2 separate regions of the Homo sapiens genome follow, and region 2 is linked to region 1. Evidence: promoter capture Hi-C in human tissues and cell types (Jung and others, 2019). All regions are on one chromosome and are shown on one strand. Each heading gives the region's core, a stretch centred on a gene start or on the middle of the fragment in contact. The rest is flanking DNA. Distances are from core to core; before and after follow the strand shown. Region 1 holds the start of ELL (elongation factor for RNA polymerase II). Region 2 overlaps ARMC6 (armadillo repeat containing 6).

Region 1 (7,861 bases), core at 2,928-5,427:
AAAAAAAAAAGAAGGAGAAGAAGAAGAAAAGAAAAGAGAAAAACTAGGCCAGGCACGAAGGCTCACTCCTATAATCCCAGCACTTTGGGAGGCCAAGGGAGGAGGATCACCTGAGGTCAGGAGTTCGAGACCAGCCTGACCAACATGGTAAAACCCCGTCTCCACTAAAAGTACAAAATTTGTAGGGCATGGTGGTGCATGCCTGTAATCCCAGCTATTTGGGAGGCTGAGGTTGCAGTGAGCCAAGATAACACCATTACACTCCAGCCTAGCAACAAGAGTGAAACTCTGTCTCAAAAAACAACAACAACAACAACAAAAACTAGGCCAGGCACGATGGCTCACTCTTGTAATTACAGCACTTTGGGAGGCTGAGGCAGGGAAATCACTTGAGCCCCGGCGTTTGAAATCAGCCTTGGCAACATAGTGAGACCCCGTCTCTACAAAAAAATTTAAAACTTAGCCAGGTGCAGTGGTGCACACCTGTGGCCCCAGCTACTCAGGAGACTGAAGCAGGAGGGTGGTAGTTCGAGGCTGCAGTGAGCTATGATCATGCCATTGCACTCCAGCCTGGACAATGGAGCAAAACCCTGTCTCAAAAAAAAAAAAAAAGGGGGCCCAGCGTGGCGACTCAAGCTTATAATCCCAGCACTTTGGGAGGCTGAGGCAGATGGATCACTTGAGGGGTCAGGAGTTTGAGACCATCCTGACCACATGGTAAAACCCCATCTCTACCAAAAATACAAAAATTAGCCAGGCACGGTGATGCGTGCCTGTAATCCCAGCTACTTGGTAGGCTGAGGCAGGAGAATCACTTGAACCCGGGAGGCGGAGGTTGCAGTGAGCTGAGATCACGCCAGCGCAATCCAGCTTGGGCGACAGGGCAAGACCCTGTCTCAAAAAAAAAAAAGGAAAGAAAAACTGCACAAAGTCCAAGGTAGAGTGAGAAGGCCAGCAGCTATGTGTACTGCTGCGCCTTTACCTTCCACCACGCTGCTCCAGCTGGCTACCAGGTCAACACCAGAGCCCTCTGGGGAGAGAAAACAGGAGGGCTTCTACCTGGGCTGTTCCCAGAGCTAGGATTACCTGCTCCTGGGAGCCACAGAGAAAGTTCCACAGCAAGTTCCTTTCTAGCCCCTGCCACACCTGAATTTGTAAAAGCCTCTTCACAATTAAAAACTAAAAATAGGCCGGGCACGGTTGGTCACGCCTGTAATCCCAGCACTTTGGGAGGCCGAGGTGGGCAGATCACAAAGTCAGGAGATCGAAACCATCCTGGCTAACACGAAAAATCGCACCACTGCACTCCAGCCTGGACAACAGAGCAAGACTCCGTCTCAAAAAAAAAAAAAAGAAATTAAAAATAAAAGCCCTCTCCACAAGTTGCAATTGGCAAACTATATAACCACAGCATCGAGGAATACAAAACTCTGGCTTCTGGGTGATAGAGTTGTCCACATGAGAGTTTGTCCATAACCAGTATATTTCTCTGGTTACACAATCAAGTTCTTCAAGCCACCTTCCTCAAGCTCACTACCCAAAACCACAGAGAGCACGGAGCTGCCGTGCCTTAGAAAAGTCCATCCACTATACTGCCCCATGGGCAAGATTAAATTCGAAAGTAGCCAAGCTGGCTGGGAGCAGTGGCTCATGCCTGTAGTCCCAGCACTTTTAGAGGCTGAGAAGGACGGATCACTGGAGGTCAGGAGTTCAAGACCAGCCTGGCCAACATGGCAAAACCCTGTCTCTACTAAAAATACAAAAATTAGCCGGGTGTGGTGGCACGTGCCTGTAGTCCCAGCTACTCGGGAGGCTGAGGCAGGAGAATCGCTTGAACCCGGGAGGCAGAAGCTGCAGTGAGCCGGGATCGCGCCACCTCAATGAAGCCTGGGCAGCAGAGTGAAACTCCATCTCAAAAAAAAAAAAAAAAAAGAAAGAAAGAAAGAAAGAAAGTGGCCAAGCCACTTAAATTACCAGACAGCTTTTTGAGAAAAATCCAAGTTTGAATCACCCCAAAATATAATCCAGCCAGCCAAGTTGCTCTGGATGGCTTGGAAAAGTTCTTCTAGGAAGCCCCTCCTGGCTGGTCAACACACTGCCCTACACAGCTGGGCTCCGAGCCAGAGGAGTTTAACAGTCCACAGTTACCTTCACCCTAACATGAGGAAGATCCAGCTTAGAGAGGGGATGTAACCAATACCCTAAAGTAAAAATAGCAGTGTGACAGCATGAGGTGGACACACAGGCGGACCTTCTGGACTGAAAAGCAAGCGAGGGCAGCATCAGAGAGAAGGCGGAGCTCCTGGTTCCTAAAGCACAGAAGACAGTGGTGACCAGGTACCAAGTCCATCGTAGTTATATGACTCACGAGCTCTCCCCCAGCTGTTTCTAGGAAAGCCTGCCTTCCTGCAGGACAAGTCAGAATCGCTCAGGGAAAAAGACCCAGGGCCAGAATTCTACCAGGAAGAGAGGCTCTGGCTGGTCATGGGCCAGCAGCTGCTGTCGCTGCCACTGTCTCCTCCTCACCTGCAGGGGCGCCTTAGCCTCATCTTGGGGAGTCTTTTTGACAAGGTGCGAACTTGCTCTTTCAAAAAAAAATGAAATCCTCATTCCATGAAGGGGAAAACTGCGACACCGGGACAGGGAGGAAATTGCCCAAAGACATGGGAAGAAGCACGGAAGGGGTGGGCACCGGGAGAGTGGTGGAAACGAAACAGGGGGAAGAAATTCTCGGCTTAGCTAATGGAGCTGAACAAGTTCGGGGCAGGAAGAAAGCCACATTCCTTCCTAGTTAGTCTCCCTCCTCCCCCGCCCGCGGCACCCCCCCACCCCCACCATCAACAGTATACACAAACACACACACACGCAGGGAGCAGGGCTCTCTGAGCCCGAGACTAGACCCACCCCCACTCCCTTTAGGGCAATGAAGCCCCCAATTTCCAGAAAAGGAGTTACAAGGTTCCTAAACCACTTCCCCTCGGGACCTGACCACTGGTCATCTGCAACTTCTGACCCAGCACAGACGGGGGGAGGGGGGGCCATGACACAAACAGAAATGAAAAAGGCAGGTTTCTGACCACGGCCCCAGATGCGCCCCAAAGTCAGGCCCAAGAGAACATACACAGCAGCCTCCCCTCCCCACCACCAGCCAGGTGGCAGAACCGAAACGCCTCAAACTTCCCCCAGATGGGCCCAAATCGGCCTCTGAGAAGTTCCAGAGTCAGCGGCCAGATGTGGTAGCCAGAGCTTCCTCCTGGGTGGCAGGGATCCCCTACATGTGCCCTGAGGATAACATCACAGCCGCCCCCAACACTTCCACTCTCCAAGGAACCTCTCTCCGGAGAGAGAGGGTCACCTGGGGGTAAGGGGAGCAGAAAGCTGGGACAAGCTGTCAGTTTCTGCCCAAACTCCCCGTCCCAAGAACCAAAGTGGCCCAACCTGAGTGGCTTCATCGGAACGCGTCAAAGCCAGCCCCCAGCTGCAAAGCCTTCCACCCAGACAGAACAGACCCCCACAAGTGCCTCGCTGACCACCCCCTGCCGGGCACCCAGACGATCGCTGCTTCCCAGGAGGACAGACACAGTCACCCCCACCAACGGCGCTGCCCCGGCCCCAGATGGAAAAGCCCCCAGCTTCCCCCTATCACGGTGCCGGGACCGTGCGGCCCACCGCCTCCTCGCCCCGCCGCCAGGTGCGCAAACTGGACCCTGCCCAGGTGCCCAGCAGGCCAGAAAGGCCCCGGACGCCGCCAGGTGCCGACACCGACGCCCCCCGGGCCCGGCGCGCGAGTCTGGGCCCCTCAGCAGCCCCGGGCCACCCGCCTGTATTGCCTCCTAGTGCTGAGAAGGAACGCGGTTCTCAGCGCTCCAGGCCGGACTGGCGCCCACTCCGCGCCCCGCCGGCCCAGGGACCCGCGAGCAGCACCACAGACCTAGCGTCTCCGAGCCCGGACGCCTCAGTGAGGGGAGCGCGAGGCCGGCCCGCGTCCGGACGTTCCCCACTGGCGCGCCGGGCGCCATGCCACTCACCTGTCTGGCGCGGTAGCTCTCGAAGGCCCTCAGGGCACTGTCGGTGAGCTTCACGTGGAACACCGACACCTTGCTGCCGTCGCTAACCCGCCCGCACGACAGCCCGTAGCTCCTATCCTCCTTCAGCGCCGCCATCTTGCGACCATCTCTCCCCCGCGCCCCCTTCCCGGCTCCAGCGCCGCCACGCCGGCCACGCCCCGCCCCGCCGCCCGCTGACGCGCTGCATTATTCATGAGACGCGGCTGGCCACGCCCCCCGAGTCCGACCAAACCAACAGTCGCCGCCACACCGGCAGGCAGCGCACTACATTATTCAGGAGACGCGCCTGGCCACGCCCCATGAGGGCCCCACAAGGCCCACAGTCAACGCCCCAAGTTGTTGCATATTCATAAGGCACTTATGGCCCCGCCTCTTCAGGCCCTAGGGGTGGCCACTTCCGTGAACGAACTCCGCCTCAACACGCGCACCCCTCCAGGCCCCGCCTCCATAGTATTATACATAACCCTGACTCAGCCAGCCAGGCGCGTCAAAGCCCCGCCCCTACAGCCGCTGACGTGATGCATTATTTATGAGATCTCTACAGTCTTCCGTCTTTGGCTTCTGTGGAAAGCCGCAGAGAGGGCGTGGAGGGGCGGAGCCGGCTCGAAACACGTGGGTGGGTAGGCCCCGCCGCGGGCCGGGAGGGTGGGCGTGGCTATGTAAACGGAGCGCGCGCGTTGGACGCTGGGTTGGACACATAAGGCATCCCTTAGGCGGGGTGGATGGGACTTCCACCCAGGGAAGGTGCTGGACCGGTAGGTGGAAGAGGAGCTGGTAAACTTTTTCTTATGAGATGAGTACTTTTAATAGGATAAAATCCTACATCCCCACAGTCCCTGAGCGATGGTGCAGTCCAGCTTCATTTTCCTATTTTAATTTTTTTTTGAGGGGTCTTGCTGTGTTGCCCAGGCTGGAGTGCAATGGCGCCATCATGGCTCACTGCACCCTCGACCTCCTGAACTCAAACTGATCCTCCTTGTCTGGGTCTGCTGAAATGCTAGGATTACAGGAGTGAGCCACCAAGCCCAGACTTCCATTTTCTTTTCTTTTCTTTTTTTTTTTTTTTGAGACGGAGTCTTGCTCATCAGCCCAGACTGGAGAACAGTGGCGCTATCTCGGCTCAATGCAACCATCGTCTCCTGAATTCAAGCGATTCTCCTGTCTCAGCCTCTCGAGTAGCTGGGATTACAGGCGCCCGCCATCATGCCCAGCTAATTTTTGTATTTTAGTAGAGATGGGGTTTCACCATGTTGACCAGGCTGGTCTTGAACTCCTGACCTCAGGTGATCCGCGCGCCTCGCCCTCCCAAAGTGCTAGGATTACAGGCGTGAGCCACCTCCCCCAGTTTTTGTTTGTTTGTTTGTTTTTAGACAGAGTTTCGATTTCCTTGCCCAGGCTGGAGTGCAGTGGTGTGATCTCGGCTCACTGCAACCACCGCCTCCTGGATTCAAGCAATTCTCCTGCCTCAGCCTCCCGAGTAGTAGCTGGGACTGCAGGCGCCCATCACAACGCCCAGCTAATTTTTTGTATTTTTAGTAGAGACGGGATTTCACCATGTTAGTCAGGCTGGTCTGGAACTCCTGACCTCAAGTGATGCACCCACCTCGGCCTCCCAAAGTGCTGGGATTACAAGCATGAGCCACTGTGCCCGGCCAGCCTTCCATTTTCTAAAAAGCAACTTCATTGAGTCACATTTTACATATAAAATATATTCCCAATGCTGTGTAGCTGTCACCACTATCTAATTTCCGAGATTTTTTTTTCTTTTTCTTTGAGACAGAGTTTCACTCTTGTTGCCCAACCTGGAGTGCAACGGTGCCATCTCAGCTCGTTGCAACCTCCGCCTCCCAGGTTCAAGCGATTCTCCTGCCTCAGCCTCCCGAGTAGCTGGGATTACAGATGCCCACCACCACGCCCAGCTAATTTTTGTATTTTCAGTAGAGACGGGGTTTCACCATATTGATCAGGTCTCTAACTCCCAACCTCAGGTGATCCGCCTGCCTAGGGCTACCAAAGTGCTGGGACTACAGGCGTGAGCCACTGCGCCTGGCCAAGGGAGGAGCTGGCTTGGAGGGCCAACCAGCTCGCTCTGTGATCTTGTGAAAGGCACCTCCTGCTTCTGAGCCTCTGTGGATTCACTTCGGAAACAGGAAACAGCAATAAGAGCAGTACTCAGGACCTAGCAAGGTGTCTCACACCTGAAATCCCAGCATTTTGGGATGCCATGACGGGAGGATCGCTTGCACCCAAGGGCTTGAGACCAGCCTGGGTAACAGGGCTAAGCCCCCTCTCTACAAAAAAATTTAAAAAATTAAAAAAATTAGCCGGGCATGGTGGAGCACCCCTGTGGTCCCAGCTACTCCGGAGGCTGACATGGGAGGCTCTCTCAAGCCCATGGGAGGTTGAGGCTGTAGTGAACTATGTTCGCACCACTATATTCCAGCACTCCAGCCTGAGTGACAGAGTAAGACCCTGTCTCCAAAAAAAAAAAAAAAAAAAAAAAAAAAAAGCCAGGCCCCCAGTGGCTCACGCCTGTAATCCCAGCACTTTTGAAGGCCGAGGGGGCTGGATCATGAGGTCAGGAGTTCGAGACCACCACGACCAACATGGTGAAACCCCGTCTCTGCTAAAAACACTAAAATTAGCCAGGCATGGTGGCACACGCCTGTAATCCCAGCTACTCAGAAGGCTGAGGCAGGAGAATAGCTTGGACCCAGGAAGCAGAGCTTGCAGTGAGCCGAGATCGTGCCACTGCACTCCAGCCTGGGTGACAGAGCAAGACTCGGTCCCAAAAAAAAAAAGTATTTCTCCACGTCTACTTTACATTTGATTCCCCAGTGGATCTCAATGAGACCCCAGGAAAAATAAGGCAGAACTTATCAGACGTTGGCATGCTCTGCAGAAGTTTCTTTTTTTTTTTTTTTTTTGAGACGGAGTCTCACTCTGTCGCCCAGGCTGGAGTGCAGTGGCACAATCTCGGGTTCACTGCAGCCTCCGCCTCCTGGGTCCAAGCGATTCTCCTGCCTCAGCCGCCCGAGTAGCTCGGGTTACAGGCACGTGCCACCACGCCTGGCTAATTTTTTGTATATTTAGTAGACGGGGTTTCACCGTGTTAGCCAGGATGGTCTCGATCTCCTGACCTCATGATCCGATGATCCGCCTGCCTCAGCCTCCCAAAGTGCTGGGATTACAGGCGTGAGCCACCATGCCTGGCCTTTTTTTTTTTTTTTTTTTTTGGAGACAAGTTCTCACTCTGTCACCCAGGCTGGAGTGCAGTGGCATGATCTCGGCTCACTGCAGCCTCCAACTCCTGGGCTCAACCCATCCTCCCACCTCAGCCTCCCAAGTAGCTGAAATTACAGGCATGCTCCACCATACTGGGCCAATCTTTTGTATTTTTTGAAGAGATGAGATTTTTCCATGTTGCCCAGGCTGGTCTCTAACTCCTGGGTTCAAAAGATCCTGTCGCCTAGCCTCCCAAAGTGCTAGGAAGTGCTAGGATTATAGGCCATAAGCCACTGCACCTGGCCGTCTGCAGACATTTTTGTTTCTTTGTTTTGAGACGGAGTTTTGCTCTTGTTGCCCAGGCTGGAGTGCAGTGGCACGATCTCGGCTCACTGCAACCTCTGCCTCCTGGTTCAAGTGATTCTCCTGCCTCAGCCTCCTGAGTAGCTGGGATTACAGGCACACGCCACCACACCCAGCTAATTTTGTATTTTTAGTAGAGACGGGATTTCACCATGTAGGTCTCGAACTCCTGACCTCAAGTGATCCACCCGCCTCGGCCTCCCAAA
Region 2 (7,597 bases), core at 397-2,896, 520 kb after region 1:
CCTACTGTGAACTGCACATGCAAGCGATTTAGGTTGGGCACTCCTTATGAAAATCTAATGCCTGATGATCTGTCACTATCTCCCATCACCCCCAGATGGGACTGTCTAGTTGCCAGACAACAAGCTCAGGGCTCCCACTGATCCTACATTACAGTGAATAGTATAATTATTATATTACAATGTAACAATAATAGAAATAAAGTGCACAATAAATGTAATGAGCTTGAACAATCCTGAAACCATCCCCACCCTAGCCCCACCATATCCATGGAAAAATTGTCTTCCACGAAACTGGTCCCTTAGGCTAAAAAGGTTGGGACTGCTGAGCTACAGGTTTGAAACAGAATTGCAAAGGGATTTGGTGTTTTTACCAAGAGTTTTATCTTACTTAACTCTATGTCTTGTTCCCACCTGTCAGAGTGGAAGGTACTGCCCAAGGTTAGTGGGTCATCTAAGTGTTGATACCTACCCCTGGTTTCCAGGGTATGCCTATACTGGGTTTTACTTGTTTGTTTATTTATTTATTTTTTGAGACGAAGTCTTGCTCTTGTTGCCCAGGCTGGAGTGCGATGGCGTGATCTTGTCTCACTGCAACCTCCACCTCCCTGGTTCAAGCCATTCTCCTGCCTCAGCCTCCCGAGTAGCTGGGATTACAGGCGCCCCACTAATTTTTGTATATTTAGTAGAGACGGGGTTTCGCCATGTTGGTCTTGAACTCCTGACCTCAGGTGATCTGCCTGCCTTGGCCTCCCAAAGTGCTGGTATTACAGGCATGAGCCACCATGCCTGGCCTTACTTGCTTATTTTTATTTTATAAGGTGGGTTTGTGTGTATACACACACACACACACACACACACACACATTTTTTTTAAGAGATATGGTCTCACTGTGTTGCCGCAGGCTGGTCTCAAACTCCTGTGCTTGAGTGATCCCCCCGCCTTAGCCTCCCAAGTTGCTGAGATTACAGGCACAAGTCATTGCTCAGTTCTTTTTGTTTTTAAACAGATTAGCACTTTAAGAAATTGAGCTATAATTTACATACCATAATATTCACTCATTTGATTTAGTAATTTTTTTTTTTCTTCTGGAGACATGGTCTCCCTCTGTCATCCAGACCGGAGTGCAGTGGCCCAGTCACAGCTCACTGCAGCCTTGAACTCCTGGGCTCAAATGATCCTCCTGCTTCAGCCTCCCGAGTAACTTCAACCACACGCAAATGCCACCACACCTGACTATATTTTTAAATTTTTTTGTAGAGACGGGGCCTTACTATGTTGTCCTTGCTGGTCTCAAACTCCAGACTTGAAACAGTCCTCCCACCTTGGCCTCCTAAAGCACTGGGATCACAGGTGTGAGCCACCATGCCTGGCCTGATGTAGTGATTTTACGTTTTCACAGAGTTGTACAACCATCATCACTATAATTCAAGAACGTTTTCATCACCCAGAAGGAAACCCTATACCCATTAGAAGTTACTCCCCATTCCCTCTCCTCCAGTCCCTGGCAACACCCAGTCTGCTTTTTGTGTCTGTGGATTTGCCTGTTCTGGATATTTCATGTCATTGGAATCGTGCAATATGAGGCTTTTCGTGTCTGGCTTCTTTGACGAGACATCATGTTTTTGAGGTCTATCTCCATTGTAGCATGCTTCAGCACCTCATTCCTTTCTCTGGCTGAGTAATATACCACCATGCGCACAGACCATTTTATCCATTCATCTGTTGGTAGACTCCGTCTCCTTTTCTTTGTTCTTGTGATTTATTTGTTGAAAACTCTGGGTGTTTGTCCTCTAGTTGACATTCTCTTCCCTAGTAGGGATTTTGCAGATCACATCCCCATGGTGTTGGTTAAGGTGTCAGAGCTGTGCTGTGCAATACCATAGTCACTCGTCACACATGGCTATTTACATTAACAAATTAAAATGAAATAAAATTACACACTCAGTTCCTCAGCCACACTGCCACACTTCAGCTGTGTGATAGCCACAGAGGCCAATGGCTTCTGTACTAGGCAGTGCAGATAGAGAACGTTTCATCATAGCAGGAAGTGCCCTGAATGCATGATCAGATTCGGGTTTGAGATTTTGGCACGATGACTTCACAGGTGCATTTTGTTCTTGTTCAGGAGGTAGGTGTTGCTGGTTTCTCTTGATGATGTGAGATCAAGCAGTAGACTGAGTTCCTGTCTACCCCTTGTTGGGCTCCCATCAGTTTTACACCTGATGGTTTTGGATCCTGTGGGATCATTATCTGTTTCTCTCCTGTCACAGCTGATCAGCTGGAATCGGAAGCAGAACTTTTCCTCATCCTCTTTTTATAACCTGGGACTCATTTGTACAAGGGAGGCAGGTTAAGTGCTAGGTTTTTTTTAAAAAAATTGTTACTAATTATTGTAGAGACAGTGTCTCGCTACGTTGGCCAGGCTGGTCTTGAACTCCTGGATTCAAGTGATCCTCCCATCTCAGCCTCCTGAGTAGTAGCTGGGAGTACAAGAGCATGCCACCACTCCCTGCCAAGAGCTGGATTCTTGGCCAGTTTTCAGAAGCCTGAGCTGTATTTGTTTTAGTATTATGAAAGCACAGAGTTTGACTTTTTTTTTTTTTTGCAACATCGTCTGACTGTCAGCCAGGCTGGAGTGCAATGGCATGATCTCGGCTCACTGCAACCTCCGCCTCTGTGCTCAAGTGGTTCTCCTACCTCGGTCTCCCTGATTGCTGGGATTACAGACGTGAGCCACCACACCTGGCCCAGATTTTGATTTTGATATGTACTGGATTTTTTTTTAATGCTCACTTGTCTCATCTGTAGCTACCAGGCATCCCTTAGGGTTTGGAAGCTTCCTTGCTTCCTGGTCTCACAAGACCCCAGCGTTACCTGCCCCATGACCTGCTGGGACTTGGAATCAGCCATTCCTCCAGAAGCCCTGGCTCCTTGTTTTTAAAGATTTTATGTAGAGACAGGGCCTCCCCATGTTGTCCAGGCTAGTGTTGAACTCCTGGCCTCAAGCCATCTTCCTGCCTCAGCCTCCCAAAGTGCTGGGATTACAGGAGTGAGCCACCTAGCCCTGGCCCCAGCTCCTTTTCGTGGGAAATGGTAGAAACCATACATGGTGTTAGAGGTATTCAGTGCTCCTGTGCTGTCATTTCTCCTAGGCATTTTTAGTTGCTATGACTAGAAAATTAGATCTTTGTTTACCTAAGAGAAAACACATGATGGGTTTATATGGATATTCCCATTTCATATATAGGAGTTCTGAGATTTTTTTTCTCAACTTTATCGAGGTATAGGATGTACTTTTTTTTGAGACGGAATCTTGCTCTGTTGCCCAGGCTGGTGTGCAGTGGTGCAATCTCGGCTCACTGCAACCTCTGCCTCCTGGGTTCAAATGATTCTCCTGCCTCAGCCTCCCGAGTGGCTGGGATCACAGGTGCCCGCCACCATGCCCGGTTAATTTTTGTATTTTTAGCAGAGATGGGATTTCACCATGCTGGCCAGGCTGGTCTTAAACTCCTGACCTCAGGTCATCCACCTGCCTCGGCCTCCCAAAGTGTTGGGATTACAGGCATGCGCCACTGCACCCAGCGAATTGTATTTAATATAGTGTATATCTTATACTATATATGGTACATAAATGATACAAATATATTGCATATGTTTACATTATACAACTTGACGATTTTATATGCATGCAGATTGTGAAATACTCACCTCAATCAACAGTTACCTTTTTCTTTTTTGTGGTGAGAACACTTAGAATCTACCCTCTTAGCAAATTTCAAGTATACCATACAATATTGTTAATTATAGGGAGTTCCGAGTTTTTAGTTGATAGTACGATGTTAGAATCTTTTTTTTTTCTTTTTGAGTCAGGGGCTTGCTCTGTTGCCCAGGTTGGAGTGCAGTGGCGCAATCTTGGCCTCCCAGGCTCAAGCGATCCTGCTACCTCAGCCTCCTGAGTAGTTGGGACTACAGGCATGTGCCACCACACTCAGCTAATTTTTATTTTTATTTTGGTAGAGACAGACTTTTGCCATGTTGTCCAGGCTGGTCTTGAACTCCTGGGCTCAAGCAATCCTCCTGCCTCAGCTTCCCAAAGTGTTGGGATTATAGGCATTGACCCACTGCGCCCAGCCAGAATCTTTTTTCTTTTATTCTGATTCCTAATAAGATAATCATTATTATTTGCTACATCCGTAATAGTTTCAGAATAACATTACTAGTATCATTATATTAAAGAACCACCTTTCTTAGATAAAATGTAGTAAACTCTGTGTTCTCTCCTACACTTTGTTTTTTTTTCCCAAGACAGGGTCTCACTCTGTGGCCCAGGCTGGAGTGTAGTAGTGTGATCATGGCTCACTGCAGCCTTGACCTCCCAGGCTCAAGTGATCCTCCCACCTCGGCCTCTCAGAGTGCCGGGATTACAGGCTAAGCCATCACACCCGGCCTCTTCTGTATTTGCAGAAGTTCTAGGGAAGTAGGGATATCACCCTTTCCTGTGATAACAGGTGGGAAGAATTTCTCCAGGGTGGTTGTAGGGCTCTGGTCGCTGGTAGATGCTTCCTAAGTGGCGTTTTCAAGGTGGCCAGGCCCTGCCATTGCCTGCTCACCCTTGAGGTAGCTCTCTCTTTGCCCTAACCTCTCAGCTCAGGAGCATCTATCGGCTGCACGCCAACATCAACACAGGCGAAGATGGTCTCCAAGCGCATTGCCCAGGAGACCTTTGATGCAGCTGTGCGCGAGAACATCGAGGAGTTTGCGATGGGGCCAGAGGAGGCAGTGAAAGAGGCCGTGGAGCAGTTTGAATCGCAAGGTAGGGTGGTGTGACTGTCACCTACCATCCTTGGCTCTTAGATGCAAGAGCAGTGGGAGAGCCCTGCTGCCCCGCCCCACTGGGGGTGCCACATGCCTGGCATAGAAACCAGGTGCCATTGGGCCCTGTCCCCTCCAGCTTCTGCCCGAGGCAGGCTGGTTATCCTGCTCCCACCTCTCACCTGCTTCCACCTCGCCCAGATATTTGTGGGCTGGATCCTTCTCATGAGTCTCATTTGATCACTTCCTTGAAGAGACTTTCCCTGACCCTGGCCTGGGAAACAGGGCCCCTGCCTCCCTGCCCTACTCTACCCTACCTCGAGCTTACAGAGGCAGAAGCAGCCTGTGGAAACAGGTGGCATGTTCAGACCAGGTGCAGATGAGTGTGGTTATGAGGGGCTGTTTGCAATGGTGTGGGTGGGGTTAGGAGACCACCCCTAGCACAACTAGCTCCGGCAGAGACCCTGACTGCAGGGAGCAGGAGTCCTGGGCAGGGGCCACATGATGGGTGCTGGGCCCTGGGGCAGAGGCAGGGGGCTGGGAATGAACACCCCACACTCCCCTCCTCCTGCCCCCATCTCAAGTTCACTTCCCCATTGAACAAACCCAGGGTACAGCCTGAGAGGTCAGAGGTCAGCCTCCTAGGCACAGAGTGGGGTATAGAACACTAGACAGGGGCCAGTGGGACAAGCAAAAGCGTCCAGCACTGTAGGGGCTCCCTGTGGGGGTGCCAGCAGGGGCAAGAATGCAGCCAGAGCCAGGAGGGATGGGAGCCCCAAGGGAGAAGGCTGTGGGGTCCCTCCCTCCCCCACCAAGCCCACCAGGCAGCATGTGGCACCTCACTGCACAGACGTGGCCTGTGATGACAGCCTTGTGTGACAACGGCCTCACTACCACTCTGCTCCCTTTGGCCCACGGACCAGTGGCAGAAACACCCAATACCCTCTACACCCCCGTGATGATGTGGCATGGGCGGGAATAGGGAGGTGGGAGGCTTCTGGAGTGGGGTGGTCCCAGCAGAAGGGTCCTGAGGTGTGATTCCAGCAGGCCCACGGGGATGACAGCTGTCACTTTCTTTCTGACCCCTGTGTGCTTGCTTCCCCCACCCCCAACAGGGGTTGATCTGAGCAACATTGTAAAGACGGCACCTAAAGTCTCTGCAGACGGATCCCAGGAGCCCACACATGACATCCTGCAGGTAGGAGTGGGCATCCCACACAGCAGGTCCTGCGTCACCTCTGTCTGGGGGCACCTCTTCCCTGTTTCCTGGATGGCAGAATACAGGCTCTGAAGGTCATGCCCTCCCCAGCATGCATGGGCAAGCTTGAGTTTGCAGCCAGGTCTCCCTGAGTCCATGTCCGAGGGCGGCATGCCTTCCAATGCAGGGGATCCCAGGCTCCTGTGGTGGCATGTATGCTGAAATCAGGTAGATGGCTTGGTTGTCCCTGCTGCTGGGATCCCAGAGTCAGGGACACCATAGAGGTGCCCCTCTGGCTTCCCAGAGACAGATGGTCAGGACTCATAGGACGAGAGAGTGGGCTCACAGTAAGGCTGTCACTTACTGAGCACTGACTGTTTACCAGCACTTTCCAGCCAGTCCGTTAGCACTGAAGCTCACCAGTGAAGTAGGTGGTGTCATTCCTGTCTTAGTGATGGGGAAACAGGCCAGGAGCTGGCACTTAACCTCTCCAGAGACCGAAAGAAGGAAGGTAAAAGAACTTCAATGCTTTCCGTAAGGTCGCCCATCAAACTTTGTAATACAGCAGAAGGCTCCGGTGTTTGAGAACCGACTGTGGGCCTGGTTCTGTGCAGGTACTTTTTTCCTGTCTTCTTGGTCACTGTCCAAACAACACCTGCAAGGCTGGGATTTCCCCATTGTAGAGATGGGGACATTGAGATCCAAAGAGAAGAGAAGTCATTGACATGGGAGCAGGAGGTGCAGTGATAGGAGAGGAAGTTGGAAGAGACGGCTCTGGGTGTAAACCCGGCTTGCCTAAGGCATGACACTTACTTCTCCCTACCTCGGGGTCCTGCCCTCTCCTGCCTTGAGGAGGTCTTGTGAAAATTGCCTCGTTGTTGTTAGTTTGCTTTTTGCCTTTCTTGCCTAATAAGGATGAATTTATTTTATTATATATATATTTATTTATCTATTGAGACAGAGTCTCACTCTGTTGCCCAGGCTGGTGTGCACTGGCGTGATCTCAGCTCACTGCAACTTCCACCTCCCAGATTCAAGTGATTCTCCTGCCTCAGCCTCCCGAGTAACTGGGATTACAGACACACGCCACCACACCTGACTAATTTTTTTGTGTTTGTAGTAGAGACGAAGTTTCACTATGTTGGCCAGGCTGGTCTCGAACTCCTGACCTCAGGTTATCTGCCCGCGTTGGCCTCCCAAAGTGCCGGGATTACAGGCATGGGCCACAGTGCCCAGCCTGGATGAATTTATTTTAAAATGAGTTTGTCTTCTGGCTATCTTTGCATTGGGTGATTCATCTTTTTCCTACTGATTTGTAGATGAAGTTTATATAGGAAGGATCTCAATAACAATATCGTCTATATTGTCTAGCAGTTACTGCTTAAGTACTTCTTAAGTGCTCAGCATTATGCTAAATTCTTTTTTTTTTTGAGACAAGAGTCTCACTCTGTTGCCCAGGCTGGAGTACACTGGCGCAGTCTTGGCTCACTGCAACCTCTGCCTCTTGGGTTCAAGCAATTCTCCTGCCTCAGCCTCACAAGTAGCTGGGATTACAGGTGCACACCACCATGCCCAGCTAATTTTTTT

What was found. The method cuts DNA at HindIII sites, captures the fragments that hold promoters and counts their contacts. A contact is called where the count stands out against the background at its distance.
Region 2: a contact is called between a fragment that was not itself captured here and the fragment with the promoter of ELL in region 1, in 1 of the 25 tissues and cell types used here (spleen).

The regions. Positions count from the first base shown.
Region 1 is chr19:18,517,893-18,525,753 of GRCh38, forward strand. It overlaps ELL (elongation factor for RNA polymerase II), which reads right to left and starts at 4,178. Exons shown (of 12, transcript NM_006532.4): 1 at 4,029-4,178. The coding sequence starts at 4,163. RefSeq lists silencers at 2,862-2,911, 3,642-3,951 and enhancers at 3,167-3,682, 3,683-4,198, 4,342-4,671. The HindIII fragment of the contact is 13,027 bases long and covers 1-7,861 here.
Region 2 is chr19:19,038,065-19,045,661 of GRCh38, forward strand. ARMC6 (armadillo repeat containing 6) reads left to right here. Exons shown (of 9, transcript NM_001199196.2): 3 at 4,647-4,813; 4 at 5,928-6,010. Among named protein-coding and RNA genes, the nearest start is that of ARMC6, 8.3 kb to the left of the region's middle. The HindIII fragment of the contact is 5,677 bases long and covers 1-4,485 here.